Regions from separate parts of the Homo sapiens genome. Here region 2 is linked to region 1. Evidence: promoter capture Hi-C in human tissues and cell types (Jung and others, 2019). All regions are on one chromosome and are shown on one strand. Each heading gives the region's core, a stretch centred on a gene start or on the middle of the fragment in contact. The rest is flanking DNA. Distances are from core to core; before and after follow the strand shown.

Region 1 (3,271 bases), core at 1-2,500:
CGAAAAGACCCGGCTGGATGCGCTCGGGGATCTTGCTCACGTTGAAGAAGGCGGCCACCACCAGCCAGAAGTAGCGGCGGTAGAAGTGCACGAAGAGTGTGGGGTTCTCCCCACGCAGGTCGAAGAGCCAGCTCTCGAGCATAATGGGGCAGGCCATGCTGAGCGGCATGACGAAGACGAAGGTGCGCAGCGCGAACGGGTAGGTACACCAGTCGGTACGGCTCTTGCAGCAGGCCACAGTGCAAGCCACCGCCAGCACGAAGGCCACAGGCAGCACCAGGGCGCGGTAGGCGGCGATAAGGCGCGTGCAGTCCACGTGCCAGCCCAGGCGCTGCTGCAAGTATGGAGTCATGACTCTGGCATCCAGCAAGCTGAGGCCTGGCAACAGGTAGTAGTAGTAGGCCACCGTGCTGCCGAAGCCGTAGTAGCTGATGGACGCGTAGTCCAGGTAGAAGAAGGCGGCGCGCAGACGCAGCGACAGGCAGCTGAACACGTGCGCCGTGCAGCTCATGGCGAAGGTCAGCAGCACTCCCGACGCGTAGCACCACAACGGTAGCAGCCACGGGTGGTGGAAGGGCACGTCGCCGCCGCTCAGGAAGAACAGACGGCAGAACTTGCTCAGGAACAGCAGCAGCGGGATGAAGTGCGTCCAGAAGTTGAGCGTCTCGTTGGTAGGCTTCAGCACCGAGGCTAGGCACTCCTGGGCCGTGCACGGCAGACGCCGGTAGCCCGACAGGATGAAGCACTCCACGAAGTCGTCGGGCACCTCGTCCCAGCGCAGCAGCGGCTTGGCAGACGCTGGGGGGTCCCGGGAGGCGGCAGAGTGGGAGTTCCGGGCGGCCCCCGAAGCTGCCGGGGCCGGGGCCGGAGGGCCTTTTGTGCCCGCGCCCCGGGGCTGCAGGCGCCGCGGCATGGTGCCCGGGGCTCGGCTAGGGCGCGCGCAGGCGACCTCTGGCGCCGGCTCCCGGGCGCTGGGCAGCCCCCGCCGGCCGCCGTCGGAGCCTTTGTGCCCACGCCGGGGGCGTCGCTGCAGGTTTAGGAGAAGACCCGTGCCTCCGAGCAGCCGCTCCTAAAAATTAAATAAATCAATAAGAGAATCAATTAATAGGCAGCGCTGCGACCGCCAGGAGCGCGGAGCGCGCGAGGCTCAGCGGCTTCCTCGCCAAGCCCCTGCTACCGGCGCGCGGCCGCCCGCGCTGCGGCAGCGGCGGCGGCGCGGCTGACTGCGGCGGCAGCGCGGCAGCGGTGACTGGGCATCGCGCGGTGCGGGTGCCTCCGCCGCCGCCGCCCCCGGAGCGGGAGGTGGGGATGTGCGAGCCGAGGCGCGGAGGGAGGGACGGGCGCACCGAGGAAGGGCGGGGGCCTCCCAGGCTAGGGTTTCGCGGCCGCTTCGGGGGATAGAGTTGTCCCCTGTCTCGAGTTCCGTACCATCCCCCTCCTCGGGCCGCCGCAGCCCGGGCCGCCCCGTTAATGATTGATGCGGGGGCCGCAGGCTGGTCGGCGACGCGGCGGCGCGCGCGCCGAGTACTAGAGTCGGCCCTGGGGTTCGAAACCCGACAGCCACGCGGGCGTTCTGGAGGACACTGGGGAGCCGCGTTCGCGGGGGGCGGGGAGCTGCGGCTGCGGGGGGAGGGGAGGGCGCCGGAGCCGGGCAGGGCGGAGAGATGCGCCAGCGGTAATCTCCGGAGGTCGCCGGGGAGGGGGGCACTCCGGAAGTCGGGGGGCTTTAAGCCCGCGTCCGGATCGGGGCCGTGTCATTGTCAGCTACCTGGGGATGCGCCTCTCGCTCCCTCACTGTCTTTGCGTGTGTGTTAGTGTGTGTGTGTGTGTGTGTGTGTGTGTGTCGGCCTGTCTACGCACTACACGAAGGCTTAGTTGGTCTTCTTTCGTCTAGTGGGCGCACTCAGGTGCGTCACCATTCTGCCGTTTCCCTCGCCCTTGTCCTGTCCGAAAGAACCGTCCGCAAGCTGCCCTGTGGTCGCGCTCACCAGCTCTTCGAGCCGCAGCTAACCCATCTTCTTGTTTTTGTGTCTTTAACTAGGACTTCTATTTGGAACTGAGTCCGACAGCTCAGGACTGGCTGCTCAAACTCCACAATTTAATGAAAAATCTCAGATGATGACTCAGAAAACCTCTAATGATCTGAGGAATATATTAAGGGATTCCAGAGTCAAAGGCTGATCATGGAGGGCATTGATGAGGGAAGACTTCAGGTAGGAGGTGCATTCTAGCAGGAACTGAAGAGAATGAAGTCCAGTTGGTAGAAACGGAGGGGGTGGCTTGGATAAATCTTATATGTAATTAATCAGAAGTACCTGGCAGGTGGCTGGAGACCAGAAGAAAGGAACACTGGAAGAATGAAAACGGTTGTGATGCACTGCAGTGTGAAAATATGCCCTTGAGCCTTAAAGAAAGGGGCTTAAGGCCGGGCGCGGTGGCTCACGCCTGTACTCCCAGCACACAGATCACGAGGTCAAGAGATTTGAGACCATCCTGGCCAACACGGTGAAACCCCGTCTCTACTAAAAATACAAAAAATTATGTGGGAGTGGTGGCGCACGCCTGTAGTCCCAGCTACTCGGGAGGCTGAGGCAGGAGAATCGCTGGAACCCAGGAGGCGGAGGAGGTTACAGTGAGCCGAGATCGCGCCACTGTACTCCAGCCTGGCGACAGAGCGAGACTCCGTCTCAAAAAAAAAAAAAAAAAGAAAAAGAAAAGAAAGGCTACTTTCATCGCTACTGCACATCCTCTAAGTAGGTTAAGGAAGATTTACTTAGTAGAGCCTCAAGATGGATTTAAGTTATGGATAAGAATTATTTATAACTAGGATATCATTCAGTATTATAAGTGTCTGCAGTTACTTAAGGATGCTAGAAACAGTCTAGAAGTTTCAGTCTTCTCTCTGAAGTATACTTTCAAGTAGTAACTGATTTAGCAAGCTCTTACACAATTAGATCAAACGTGCGCTTCAGTCTTCTGCCTTTCTGCACTGCCACACATTCCTGTCTAGTGGATTTTTTTTTTTAGGCGTGGATTTTTAAGAAGTGAGATTTTGTTGTAGTTATTTAGCCAGTGTCTTATTTTAGTGTTTTCTGGTTTTCCACTGTTTGTAGCTTGTTTTAAATTGAAATCTAATTTCCTTTTATATCTGGACTGAGGACCCATGGCTATTTGTAAAATGGATTAAATTTAGGTGTTTTAATCAAGTGTAGGAATGATAAACTTGAATCCAGGGCAGGCCCGAACTTTTTTTTTTTTCATATTCCCTTTG
Region 2 (3,271 bases), core at 511-3,010, 400 kb before region 1:
TTGCAATAATACGAGTAAGAACCATTAATAAAGTGACTTCAATAAATTCTAAATTTTGCATACTCATCAACTGCAAAGGAGCTGATTGTAAATATCCCATGTGTTCATCTAATTGACTTAAAAATCGGCTCATGACCACTGGCCATTCCACAGCATGACCCATCACATTTCTTCTATGGAGGTAAACCAAGTCTTCAAAAAGTTGTAATAATTCTTTTGTGAGTACCCCAAAAATAGCAGGACTCTTGCTTTTAAAAAGAAATAATAATGAACAGATGACTTCACAGATTTTCTTGTGTAACAAATGACAGGAGGGAGTTGCTGCAATCCGCAGAAGTCTCGTTATGATCCAATTACTGAATTCTTTGAAATAAACAAAAAAGATATTAAATAAACAAGTATATCCGAAGTGCTAATTCATTTGCTAAATCCTTGACGATTGACTTTTAAAGAATAAACTTCACTAACAAGAGTGTAAAACATTCTCTTCACAATGGAAACATAATAGTTTAGAACACAGGCATACCCAGTTTTATTGCACGTTGCAGATACTGCATTTGTCACAAATTGAAGGTTGTGGTAACTCTGCATCAAGCAAGTGTATCAGTGCCATTTTTCCAATAGCATGTGGTCACTTCATGTCTCTGTATCACATTTTGGTAATTCTCAAAATATTTCAAACATTTTCATTATTATCGTATCTGTTATGGTGATCTGTGATCAGTGACGTTTGATGTTACTATTGTAATTGTTTGGAGCTGTCATGAACCACACCGATATAAGGTGGCAAACTTAATGGATAAATGTATGTGTTCTGACCCACCGACCAGCAGTTCCCCATCTCTCTCCCTCTCCTTGTGTCTCCCTATTCCCTGAGACACAGTATTGAAATTAGGTTAATTAATAACCCTTACAATGGCCTCTATGTGTTCAAATGAAAGGAAGAGTCACACATCTCTCACTTCAAATCAAAAGCTAGAAATGATTAAGCCTACTGAGGAAGGCATGTTGAAAGCCAAGACAAGTTGAAAGCTAGGCCTCTTTCACCAAACAACCAACTTGTTAAAACAAAGAAAAAGTTTTTGGAGGAAATTAAAAGTACTACTCCACTGAACGCACCATTGATGAGAAAGTGAAACAGCCTTATTGCTGGTATGGAGAAAGTTTTTGTACTCTGAATAGAAGATCAAATCGTTAAAAGATGAGGAAATTTCCAGTAGGAAAAAAAGAAGATCAAACCAGCCACAACATTCCCTTAAGCCAAAGCCTAATCCAGAGAAAGGCCCTCAACATCAAGGCAAGACACTCCACCAGCACAAATATTACAACTTGTTGAAGGATGATATAATCGTTAGCATTTTTTAGTAATAAAGTATTTTTAATTAGGGTACATACATTGTTTTTTAGACATAATGCTATTCCACACTTAAGGTACAACGTAAACATAACTTTTATATGCACTGGGAAACCAAAAAATTCATGTGACTTACTTTATTGCAATATTCACTTTATTGTAGTGGTCTGGAACTGAACCCACAATATTTCTGAGGTATGCCTGTAACAACTTTGGAGTCAGACAGGCAAGGTCCTAGCTTTCCACTTACTAGTTGTATAAACTTTTCATTTCTCTGAACCTCTGTAATTTCATGTATAAGGAGAATAATGCTATCTATGTTATGGGTTACTGTGAGGACCAAATAAGAAAATGCACATGAAATACTCAGCACAGTTCCAAAGTAAAATAAATGTTCAATAAAGGGTAGCTATTGTCATTCTTTCAACTAAAATTTGAGTGGTGACTCTGTCTCAGGTACACAAGAATAAATCAGTCATAGTCCTGTCCTCATGAATCTCACAGTACAGTTTCTTGAGCTTTTTGACTGCAACAAAGAAATAACATTTTATATCATGACCCAGTACATATACATGCATTTTATTTAAATATTTAAAACAAAAGGTTCATTAAATAGTACTTACTCTTATTACATACAATGTACTATAATATTTTCTTTTTTTTTTTCTTGAGACAGGTTCTCACTCTGTTACCCAGGCTGGAGTGCAACGGCATGGTCTTAGCTCACTGCAATCTCTGCCTCCCAGGCTAAAGCAATTAGTGTGCCTCAGCCTTCCAAGTAGCTTGTACCACAGGCATGTGCCACCATGTTCAGCTAATGTTTTTCTGTTTTGTTTTGGTTTGGTTTGGTTTGGTTTTGGTAGAGACAGGATTTTGCCATGTTGCCTAGGCTGGTCTCGAACTCCCAAAGTGCTGGGATTACAGGCGTGAGACATCGTGCCCAGCCTATGATATTTTCTAGTTTATTTCATCTTGTTTTAAATGCTGATAATTGCCTAATTTCATAACCCACTAGTGGGTTATGACCTGTAGTTTAAAAACTACTGTAGGAAAGAATATAGACAAACCAATGATTAGAGCACAGTTTAATAGCCTCTATGATAGATGAAATGCAGAACACTTAGTACTAAGAGAGAATAAAGGAATAACCAAGCCAGTTCTAAGCAGTTAGAAGTAGTGCTCAGAAAAAAACTTCTTGGAGGACATGCTATCAAAGTTGAGTTAAAGTTTGAACAAAAAATTTTAAAATACTTTATCCATTATACAAAAAAAATGTTTATTTTGCATCTCTTTATGAAGACACCAATGAAGGGACAAAAGTAGTAGGTGCAATAAAGAATAAGCCTAGAGAAAAGCTTCAATATATAGAATAGCGGTCAGCAAACTTTTTTTAAAGGACCAGATAGTAATATTTTTGGCTTGAGTGCCCAAGTTGCCTTTGTAGTAGTCACAGACAATAAGTAAAAGAATGAGCATGGCTGTGTTCTAATAAAACTTTGTTTACAAAAACTGAAGCCAGGCACAGTAGCATGTGCCTATGGTCCCAGGTATGCAGGAGGCTGAGGCAGGAGGATCCCTTGAGTCTACCAGTTCAAGACCAGCCTGGGCAACATAGCGAGACCCTGTCTTATTTAAAAAAAAAAAAAAAAAAAAAAAAAGGAAACAAAACAAAACACCAAAACTTTGTTCACAAAAACAGGCAGCCACCCTGTGGACTACAGCTTGCCAAGCTCTGATCTAGAAGAAAGAGATTACCAAAAACAGAAAAAAGAAAACCATGCCAAAGTGTTCAATGGCAAATAAACAAATTTGATTATTTCTAAGTACCTAGTATACAATACTAAAAAGAAAACAATAAGGATATGTGAAGGAAAAATAACCATTACCATTTTGCTCCTTCAATTTATAGCAAAGCTG

The links. Contacts are between HindIII fragments. The study calls those that stand out against the background at their distance.
Region 2: a contact is called between a fragment that was not itself captured here and the fragment with the promoter of PAQR9 in region 1, in 1 of the 25 tissues and cell types used here (small bowel).

What each region holds. Positions count from the first base shown.
Region 1 is chr3:142,962,424-142,965,694 of GRCh38, forward strand. It overlaps PAQR9 (progestin and adipoQ receptor family member 9), which reads right to left and starts at 1,251. Exons shown (of 1, transcript NM_198504.4): 1 at 1-1,251. The coding sequence starts at 913. PAQR9-AS1 (PAQR9 antisense RNA 1) reads left to right here and starts at 1,635. Exons shown (of 5, transcript NR_125393.1): 1 at 1,635-1,675; 2 at 2,042-2,213. RefSeq lists a silencer at 280-465. The HindIII fragment of the contact is 8,480 bases long and covers 1-3,271 here.
Region 2 is chr3:142,562,747-142,566,017 of GRCh38, forward strand. ATR (ATR checkpoint kinase) reads right to left here. Exons shown (of 47, transcript NM_001184.4): 4 at 1-363. Among named protein-coding and RNA genes, the nearest start is that of ATR, 14 kb to the right of the region's middle. The HindIII fragment of the contact is 4,616 bases long and covers 1-3,271 here.